Linked DNA regions of Homo sapiens: region 2 is linked to region 1. The links are contacts of gene promoters, found by promoter capture Hi-C in human tissues and cell types (Jung and others, 2019). All regions are on one chromosome and are shown on one strand. The core of a region is centred on a gene start or on the middle of the fragment in contact, and the rest is flanking DNA. Distances in the headings are between cores, read along the strand shown.

Region 1 (5,708 bases), core at 1-2,500:
AAGGTTTTTTTCTCTCTTCCAATTCAATTTGTTAGGCGACACTTCAGTAAACAGTAGGGGCAAGATAGAGTGGAAACAGCCAAGATTTCAAGCCTAGTAATAAGCAACTTCTACATCCCTACTCATCACAGGCCTTTTTGTCTATCCCAGAAACACATACTTTTCCTGAAAAAACAAAGCACTGGAAGGATTACCAAGTCTAGAAAGAACCCGCCCTCCCCAAACTAGGTGGTTTTCTGATAAGCCTAAGGTATGTTTCACAGGATCACTGGTTGCCATCTCCTACCCAGCAATCTGGAGAGGTTGACCAGAATAAAGTATTTTAAAATCCAAGCGCTTAGTCTAACCTGGAATTTCCTCAGTTTCTAGATGGCTCTTTGTAGAACAATGCAGATTCTCAAAGGTGACCACAGTTAAAGAAAAAATTACAAGCCATTGCGCTAGAGAGAGCCATCTGCAGTTTCTCCTTAGACAGATGTTCAGATGGCACACATGGCCACTAAATTTGCATAATATTTCAGGAAGTTCACAGATTTCCCGAAGCCCACTCATGAATCACACTTCTGGTTAAGAACTCCTAGATTCATATGCTAGTTGGTGATAAGTGCTTTGGTATATAAACTTAAACCAAAAATTGGTGGAATAATTACCACCTTGGATAGGATGGTCAGAGAAGTTTTATCCGAAGAGGTCACTTTTGAGCAGAGACTTGAGCTGGTGCAGACACCTGAGTGTGCATTCCAGGAAACGCGAACAGCAGGCGCAAGGGTCCCTATGAGAGAATGTGCTTGGCGGGCTCGACGCACATTTATTTACTTGGGACACACCCTATTTTGGTTTCTCTTCTCCACTTTTCCCCTCGTTCTTGTCCCCCCTTTTCTCTCTCCTGGGCCCTGGATCTCCTGAGCGCGGAGGGCTACGCCTCCTTCTTCCTCCGGACTCACCAGGGCTGCCAGCTTAGCTTACATTTTCAGGGAACAGGAAACTGAGAGTCAGGAAAGGTGAGCTCTTCTACCTCGGGTCTTGCCATTTTGCATGTCCTGAGTCAGTCACTGGTTAACTCTGAACTTCAGGTTCCTCGGCAATTAGAGATTATAAATAGCCTATACAGCCTATTCCAGATCTGAGATTCCAACAGCCAAAGTCTTTTCACTTCCTTTCTTCCCCCTCTCCTTCACTTTCCCAGCTTTCTTCTTAACCAACAATCTACCCGAAACCGTCGTTTCTTGGTTAGCGCTTGCGCAGACAGGCGAGAAAGGTAAGTTTTGACCCAGCTTAGCAGCCGTAGTCAGCCGGGAGTGCTGTCGTGGGGGATTGTGGGAAAAGATGGCGGCTGCCGCACAATCCCGGGTTGTCCGGGTCCTGTCAATGTCACGTAAGTGTTACCGGGAACGGCGGCCCCTGGTCGGGATTCCGAGACGGGGATTTAAGGTTTTGGAAGTGGCACCGTGCTGCAGCGGTCACGCCAACTTCCTAGGCACACTCTGGTTTCTCTAGGTTTGGAGCTGCCTCAGTCTGGTTTCTCCTTTCGCTTTCCGCTTCCCCGGCTCACATATTCAATTGTGCACCACCTTGGGAGGGGACAAAAGATCTTAAGCAGCTGTAAGCGAAGAGGAGAATGCGGGGGACACGTTAGGGATCGAGAGAATCAGAATTCTGATATGGTTGTAAGGGTTTAGGGTTATGAGAAATATTTGTATGGGGCGGGGGGAGAAATGTGTAAGGGAGGGAAAAAAGGCTAGTGGCGAGAGGTTTTCTTAGATTGATTTTATGACCTTGTGCAAACCCTTAATGGGTCTCAATTCATATGAGCACAATGGAAATGATAATATTACAATACCAGGGAGTCTCTGATAAGATTAAATGAGCTAATATTTGTAAAAGCATCCTTTTACCCAAAAGCGTCTCTACGGATGTAGAATGTGTTCGGCAAAGTGCGTTGGGGTCTGGGGGAGAGAGTGATGTTTGAGGAGAGAAGAATCAGGAGCTTGGTGGAAAGGAAAGTGAAGAATGAAGGCTATGTTAGAATTTGTTAGCATTATTTAGTTTCTCTTCTGTTCTGATTGGATCTGCTCCCACTCCTCAAACTGAAAACATACATTTGTCCTTCCACTCACTAAAAAGCAAGGAAATTAGAAATACGGTTACACTTCATCATTGTCCTTTCACCCTCTACTCTTCCACAAACATATTCCAATCAAACCCCCAAAGTTGTATTTTTCTTAGTGTATTTTAGTCGTTACAGAATATCATTTGCTTTCAAAATTGGCTCATGTCAGAATCACTCGTAAAGCTTTATAAAAATTAGAAATGAGGACTGAGTGTAGAGCTATTGAGTCAGAATTTGTGAGATTAGCTCCTTGCACCTTAAATTTTTAAAAGCACCACAGATAGGCTTGATGTTCAGCCTGAGGCAAGAATTAGGAGTGTTTAGAGGATCCTTTTTTTTTTGTTTTCCATCTTGGGTAGAACTCCTGCATACCACTGGGAAGGTGGTGGTGCACATCACTTATAGTGGATGGTTTTGTAGTCACAATGTCTTTGCAAAGACATTTGCTGGTTCTTGTTAAACTATTACAATTGTATGACGTAATGTAGATTGTGAATGGTAATCACTATTTATTGAGTACCTGCTATCTGCAATCTCCAGTTCTAGGTATTTTTATTAATTTTCCTCTTTTAACTTACTTTCCTCTGACTGACACCATAGCTTGTGTTCTTAACCACTCTGCGTTATTGTCTGGTAAAGTAAGTTTTTGAGTAAATTCTGTAGAGGCAAGTCTAGTATGTAACATAATCCACACACTATAGGACAGAACTGTGTAAGACAACTATATATAGTTAAGTGTGGCAAGACTATTAAGTATCACAGGAAATCATAAAAGGGAAAGATTAGTATCATTTGAGGTACTGAGGGATGATTGGAAGACCAGTGGAGAATTGTAGTGCTCCCACTGGTCTCTTTAGGGCTGTTATGATCTGGAAAGTCCTCTGGCAAAGACAAGTGGGTGAGAATGGAGTCATGAGGTATTCAAGAGGCAGTGAAATGACTACCTGAATATCTGGGATAGTGGAAAAGGAGGTTGAATGTGTTAGATGGGATCAGACAATGGAGACCTTTGAAAGCCAAGCAGAGTTTAGATCGGTAGTCTCCAAAGGGAGTTGTGCAAGAGGACCTAATAAGTTGTGGAAATATAAATTAGAACTCCTAAAAATTGCTTTCTATAGTAATAATAGCTAACACTTATGTAGTTTAAACTGTATGCCACACACTATTCTAAGTAATGTATGATTTATAATGTGTATATCATATTGGTACTACATAGAACGTGCATATAATTTTTTAAATAAATACTTAAAAAAATTAATGCAGTGTGCAAGCAAATATGTCTGGACTATTGGTTTGGGTATTGCAGTAGGAAACTAATGTAGGTTTTTAAGCAGAGAAATATAATGAATATATAATTAATAAAGAATATCATTCTTCTAATAGTACTCATAATAAATGGAAGAAAGTGGAGAGGCTGGAACCAAAGAGAGTAATAATTTATATTTATTGAGCACCTAGTATTTGCAAGGCACTGTGACAGATGCTTGCCCATATGTTATTCTCATTAACCCTTTAAACTGTGAGCTTCATGAAGCCAGGGTTTTGTATTTTACTGTGATAGTCACAGTTTCTAGAATAATTCTTGGCCCATAATTATTAAAAAAAAACAATAGCCATGTGAGGTTAGTGTGACATTACCTTCTGAGAAATTTCAAAGTAATAAAAGCAACTATTATTCATAGAATGCTTAATGTGCTCTAGGTAATGTGCTACGTGGTTTATGTATGTTTAATCCTCTTAACAGTCCTTTGAGGTATTAATTCCTCAACTCAAGTAATTCTTCCCAGTTCATTGACTCTGCCATCTTTTGCCTGTCTTATCCTATGTCCTCATTTCCTTACTCTTCACTCTTATCATTCCCTTTTATGCATCCTCAACTCCCCAGCCCAACTCCCATTGTCGTAAAAAACATTGACCCTGATTAAACAAAACTTTCCACGTAATTTGCTGCCTGCCACTGAGCAATGGAGAACGGGGCTAGGGAAAACTTCAGACTAACTGGCCTTATTTTAAATTCATGAATACAAATCTCAAGTAGATTTTCAGTGCTACATTTTTCTAGGAAATTTGGTTTCCTTGTCTCCATAATCATTACTTAACATAGCGAGTTTCCTAAAACCTCTAACATGTGCTTTTGTCTCATTCTCAGCTTTACAGAGAAATCAAAGGAATCAGATGAGAACAGTCATTTTCCCACCATAAACTCTAATAGTTGATATGTGATAATTCTTTGCCTTTTCTCTTGTTACAGTGGGTGAGCTCCTTCTGTTCCAATCTGTGGCCAGTTCCTTCACTTTGCATTCAATCTTATCCTCTCTCAACTATTCATTCCCTTTCCTGAATCAGTAATTTTCTACCTCTACCATGGAAATCATGTCATTTCCATCAGCACATAAATGTTAACTCATATTTAAAACAAACAAACAAACCTATTCCTGTCCTTGTTTTCTCTAGTTCCATTTCTCCTTTTTCAGAAGGATTGTGTATACTCCTCATCTACTTCCTTGCCTCACAGCCTCTCTTGTTTGCTCCAGTCTGGCTTTCAGTCCCACTAATCCAATAAAATTGCTCTTATTTATGCCACCTACAGCCACATCCTCCAGCTTCTGTGGTCCTCTGTCCTCTTCCTACTTCACTTTCAGCATTTGGTAAAGTTAACCATTCTCTCCTTGAAACAGTTTCTTATTTTGGGTTTTTAGATTCTGTTTCCTTCTGAGTTTTTCTCCTACCTCATGGGACTGCTTTTTAATCTCCTTTACTAGTGCTTTGGGCTAGTCACTAACCTTATCCATAAAGTGGTGATAAAGATAGCATTAAAAAAGATAATACCTATGCAGCACTTAGAATAATGCTGGACACCTGCCAAGAGCTCTGTAAAGGTAGCTGTTAATATGATGTTATTATTTTGTTATTATGATGTGTGGTCCATGATGTTTACTTTTAATTTCTGTCACTATCAGTGAGCTAGGCTATTTCTCCAATTCAATACTTTTGGATAGGGAAGAACAATGACCTTTGGGCAGAATGCCACCTGAAAGTCATCCCTAGAAACAAACACAGATTTTCTAAAGAAAGTCCTGTTTGTGTCTTTCACCTCTCCCAAGTGTACAAAGCACGAATGCTAAGCTCCGAAGTTTGTTGATTGGAGCAGAAGTGCGTTAGCACTTTAAACCTTTTTGTTTCTACTTACATGAAAGTTGAGCAGCTAACTCTAAAATTCTATTCTAAGGAGTTAGCAATAACTTGAAAACTGGAATGTATCCAAAAGAGATTCTCATTCCTGCCATATGAAGAATATTTGACAGGACAGGGAATGTTTAACCTGGAGAAGAAAATATTTAGTGGGGCTATAATTGCTACACTTAATTGTAGAAGAGGGATTAGACTTGTTCTTTGTCATTCTGGAGGAACACAGGGATAAAAACTTCTGGGAAGCAGTCACTGATTCCCCTTGTGGTAGAACTTTCTTTCTGTTAGAATGGCTCAAAGCAGAATGGGCAGCTACAGGAAGTAGTGAGTTTCCCAACTCCACAGGTGTTCAGGCAAAAGCCAGATGATTTCTTTGCACACATGCTGTAGAGAAGATGTAAGCATTGGT
Region 2 (5,377 bases), core at 489-2,988, 520 kb before region 1:
GTTTGTTGAAAAGTCTGTACTTTCTCACTAAATTGCCTTGATACTTTTGTCAAAAGTGAGTTGACCACATATGTGTGATTGATTTCTGGATTCCCTATTCTTTTCCATTTATCTGTGTCTCTATTACACCATAGACCAATACTACAATGTCTTGATTGTTGTAGCTTTCTAGTAAGCCTTGAAATTAGGATACTGTTCATTTTTTGACGTTTATATAAGTGGCATCATACTTTACATATCCTTCGTTTACTTTTTTCACAACATTAATTTTGAGATCTATCTGCATTGGTGATAAATCTATCCGTCTATCCAGTTGATGCATACCTCCAATCTCTTCATTTTCATAATTGTATAGTGTTCCTTTGTGTTTGTACACCATAATTTTGTATCATTCTACTGTTGGTTGACACGTAGATTGCTTATAGGTTTCAGCTGTCCCACACTATGCTGTGTGAACATTTGTGTACATGTTTAATAATAGCGTACACGTTTGGCCGGGCGCGGTGGCTCACACCTGTAATCCCAGCACTTTGGGAGGCCGAGGCGGGCAGATCACGAGGTCAGGAGATCAAGACCATCCTGGCTAATACGGTGAAACCCCATCTCTACTAAAAATACGAAAAAATTAGCCAGGCATGGTGGTGGGTGCCTGTAGTCCCAGCTACTCGGGAGGCTGAGGCAGGAGAATGGCGTGAACCCGGGAGGCAGAGCTTGCAGTGAGCCGAGATCGTGCCACTGCACTCCAGCCTGGGGGACAGAGCGAGACTCCATCTCAAAAAAAGAAAAAAATCGTGTACATGTTCAAAGTTTCTCCAGGGTTTGAACCTAGGTATGGAGTTACTGGGTCCCCAGGTAGCAAGATTCATATGCCAAGAACCTTCATCTGCGCTAGAGAAGACCAAACCATTTTCCAGAGTCTCATACCAATCTTCACACCCGGCAGCAGCGCACAAAAGTTTTCAGTGTTCCTCGTTATCTACGCTTGGTGCTGGTAGACTTTTTAACTTAAAAATCACACTTTGTGGTTTCAGTTTGCACATCCCTGGATATTAGAGAGGTTAAACATCCTTTCTCAGACTCTTTGGCCACTCAGCTTTCCTTTTATGTAAAACGCCTGTTTGTGTCTTTTGCTCACTTTTCTATTAAGTTGTGTTTTTCTTACTGATTAGATGAATTCTTTATACATGCTGAATACCAATACATTTCTCAGTCTGTACCTTTTTGTTCCTTTAATGGCGACTTGATGACCAGAAGTTCTTCATTTTAACATGATCAAAATTATCAATCCATTCTCTTCTGTTATTTTACATATTGTGCTCTGTTTATAAAATCCTGCCATATCTTAAATTCATAAAGATCCTTGCCAGCGTTTTCTGCTAAAAGGTCTAAAGTTTGGACTTTTATATTTAAATTTTAATTCATCTTAAGTTTTTAAAAATTACATATACTGTGTGAGGTATAGATGCAATTTCACATGGAAAACCAGCTGTCCCAGCACCATGTATCGAATAATCTATATTTTCCCCACTGATCTTCAGTGGCCATTCTGTATTATATTATATCAAGTTTCTAAATATGTATGAATTGGTTTCTGAACTGTATCTTGTCCCATTGATCTGTTTGTTCTTTTATCATTACCAACTGTCTTAACTACCATAGCTTTTGAATAAGTCTTGATGTTGAGTAGGATAATCTCCTCACCTTGACTTCTTTAGGAGTTTCTCAGCTATTCCTGGTCTTTTGTGCTTCAATTAAATTTTGAAATCAGACTGCCACATGGTACCAAAACCAAAAAACAACCCAACTGCTGGTATTTTTGTTACAATTTAACTGAACCTAAAAAAAAATCAAAATCAGAAGAATTTGCAGTTGTTCATGAGTGAGTCTTCCTACCCAAGCCATGGCTTATCTCTTCATTTTATGTAGTCATTCCAAATGAGGTTTGAGAACATTTTGTATTTTTCCTCATAAAAGACTGGCACATCTGTAAAATATTCCTTGGTATCTTACTTTTTGTTACCCTCATGTTATCCTTTTTTTAAAGTGAATTCCCTGGTGGTGCATAAAAATTAACTTTTGTATTGTGATCTTTTATCTGACAGCTTTGATAAACTTTCCTATTCATCTTAGTAATTTTTTTGTTTTTTGAGACAGGGTCTCACTCTGTTACCCAGGCTGGAGTGCAGTGGCAGGATCTCGGCTCACTGCAGCCTCAACATCCTGGGCTCAAGCAATCCTCCCACCTCAGCCCTGAAAGTAGCTGGGACTGCAGGTACACACCATTGCACCTGGCTAATTTTTGTATTATTTGTAGAGATGAGATATCGTTATGTTGCCCAGGCTGATCTCGAACTCCTGAGCTCAGGCAGTCCACCCACCCTGGCCTCCCAAAGTGCTGGGATTACAGGTAGGAACTACCATGCCCAGCCTCATCCTACTAATTTAACTTAAAATTTAACCTAAAAATACTTTAGGTTATCTCTTTCTTTCCTTTCCATTTCTTTCCGTTTCCTTTTCTTTCGTAGTGTACTGGCCAGAATTTCCAGCAACATTGAACGAACCAATGAAAATAATAGCCTTGGCCGGCTATTGATCCCAAAGAGAAATTTTAAAATATTTTACTGTTGAATATGTAGTTACTACAACCGCATGTGTGTGTGTATGTGTGTGTGTGTGTCTGTGAGCATGTGCACATGCATGCATGCATCCACACACGTAAAACTCATAACAGGTTAAATCACCTTTGATTCCTCGTTGGTCAAGAATGGTTATCATAAAGAAATATTGAATGTTATTAAACACTTTCTTCCTCTATTGAGATGATCATATGGCTTTTCTCCTTTTAAGGAATGATCAAGTGATGAACTACATTTAGAAATTTTCTGATGCTGACCTGCTTTGCATTTGTGGAATGAATTAAACTTGGTCTTCATTGATTATCTTTTAAATACATGGTTAGTGTTAATATGTTAATACCGTGTTAAGGAGTTTTGCATCTATGTTTGTTAGTGAAATGGTTCTGTGATTTTTTTTCCTACAACTATATCTAATTTTAGTATCAAGCATCTGCTGGCCTCATAAAAATGACTAGGGGAATGTTTCCTTTTCTTCTACTCTATAGAAGAATTTAAATAATATTGGAATTATCTTTTTCTTTAATGTCGGACCTATCTTGCCTATAAAATCATCTGGGATTGATATTTTCTTTTCTGTTTTTTGTTTGTTTGTTTGTTTGAGACGGAGTTTCACTCTTACTGCCCAGGCTGGAGTGCAAGGGCACGATCTTGGCTCACCACAACCTCCGCCTCCTGGATTCCAGTGATTCTCCTGCCTCAGCTTCCTGAGTAACTGGGATTACAGGCATGTGCCACCATGCCCGGCTAATTGTGTATTTTTAGTAGAGACGGAGTTTCTCCATGTTGGTCAGGCTGTTCTTGAACTCCCAACCTCAGGTGATCCACCCGCCTCGGCCTCCCAAAGTGCTGGGAGTACAGGCATGAGCCACCGTGCCCGGCCTCCGGCCCTGATATTTTCTTTGTAGTGAGGTTGTTAAGTGTTCATTACCTCAATTTAATGGTTTTAAATAGTTATATTCAGGATTTTTACTTCCTCTTGAACCTTTTGGCAATTAATATTTTACTAGCCATTTGTCCCTTTTTTAATTTTCAAATTTATTGGCAATAAATGTCATATTATTTTCTCATTGTATTTTAATTCCCATTGCATCTGTAGTGTATTAATTTCCTAGGATTGCTTTAACAAAGTACCAGAAACTGGGCAGCTTAATACAATAGAATGTGTTATCTCATAGTTCTGGAAGCTAGGAATTCAAGATGAAGGTGTTGAAAGAGTTGGTTCCCTCTGAGCGCTGTGCTCTGTTCCATGCCTCTCTCCCAGTTCTGCTGATGGCTGGGGTCTTTGGCATTCCTTGGCTTGTGAATCCATCACTCCAATATTCACTTTATCTTCACATGGTATTCTCCCTGTGTCTGCGTCAGCCTCTTCTCCTCTTCTTACAAGGACATCAGTTATAAGGGATTAGAGCTCACCTTATTGACCTCATCTTAGCTTGATGACAGCTGCAAAGACCCTGTTTTTTGTTTTGTTTTGTTTTGTTTTTTTGTTTTTTTAGATGGAGTCTCGCTCTGTTGCCCAGGCTGGAGTGCAGTGACGTGATCTCAGCTCACTGCAGCCTCTGCTTCCCAGGTTCAAGTGATTCTCCTGCCTCAGCCTCCTGAGTAGCTGGGACTACAGGTGTATGCCGCCACACTTGGCTAAATTTTTTTGTATTTTTAGTAGAGATGGGGTTTTACCATATTGTCCAGGCTGGTCTCGAACTCTGGACTTCAAGTGATCTGTCCGCCTCGGCCTCCCAAAGTGCTGGGATTACAGGCGTGAGCCTCCGCGCCCTGTTTTTTTAATAAGATGACATTCACAGGTATTGGGAGTTAGGAACTCTACATAGCTTTTGAGAGGATACAGTTCAGCCCATGATAAGTAGTGAAATCCTCTTTCTCATTACTAATCTTGCCATTTTTTTGCCGTTTCTCTTGATCTCTTAGTTACCTTTGCTGGCAGTTTTCAATTGCATGCATATTTTTAAAAAAGCATTTTTCAGCTTTGTTAATTCTATTTTATTTTTTGCTCCTATTTCAGTAAATCTCCTCTTTATTAATTCATCCCTTCTATTTTTAAAAAGATTATTCTTTTGCTTATTCTAATTTCTTAATTTGGATGTTTACCTTGCTGCTATTCAGACATTCTTCTTTCCTAATATATTAGCATACATGCTATATATTTTCCTCTAACCATGTCAAAACACTTTATTCCCTAAATTTAAAAGTGAAACATTATCTTTATCAATCAATATTAAGTATTTCCTCATTTCCATTATGATTTCTTTTTTGACCCTGAAGTTATTTAGAAGTGTGTCTTTAAATTTCCAAACACAGGATTTTTTTTTTTGTCCTCTTTTTGTTATTCATTTCTTAAATTCTTTGGAGTCAAAGTATGTAAACTGTAAGATACTGGCTGAAATTTGTTGAGACTTGCTTTATGGCATACTATATAGACGATTCTGAAATGTTCCAAATGTACTTGAAAAGAATGTGTCTTTTTTATTTCTTGGGTACAAAATTCAATATACATCCATTAGATCAAGCTTATTAACTGCATGTTCAGATCTTCTAAAATCTCTGATTTTTCTGTTGCTTGATCTATCAAATAATGAGAGAGGATATTAAAACCTCTCACTATGATGTAGATTTGTCAGTTTTTCCTCATGGTTCTTGCAATTTTGTTTTATATATTTTGAAGCTATGTTACTGATTACATACCAGTTTAATACTATTATATTCTTCTGGTGATATGAACTTTT

Evidence for each region. Contacts are between HindIII fragments. The study calls those that stand out against the background at their distance.
Region 2: a fragment that was not itself captured here is called in contact with the fragment with the promoter of AKAP3 in region 1 in 1 of the 25 tissues and cell types used here (mesenchymal stem cells).

The regions. Positions count from the first base shown.
Region 1 is chr12:4,647,801-4,653,508 of GRCh38, forward strand. AKAP3 (A-kinase anchoring protein 3) reads right to left here and starts at 1,251. Exons shown (of 6, transcript NM_001278309.2): 1 at 945-1,251. NDUFA9 (NADH:ubiquinone oxidoreductase subunit A9) reads left to right here and starts at 1,314. Exons shown (of 11, transcript NM_005002.5): 1 at 1,314-1,375. The coding sequence starts at 1,327. RefSeq lists enhancers at 676-725, 1,006-1,215, 1,084-1,739. The HindIII fragment of the contact is 5,598 bases long and covers 1,139-5,708 here.
Region 2 is chr12:4,125,845-4,131,221 of GRCh38, forward strand. No RefSeq gene overlaps it. Among named protein-coding and RNA genes, the nearest start is that of LINC03141, 120 kb to the left of the region's middle. The HindIII fragment of the contact is 9,017 bases long and covers 1-5,377 here.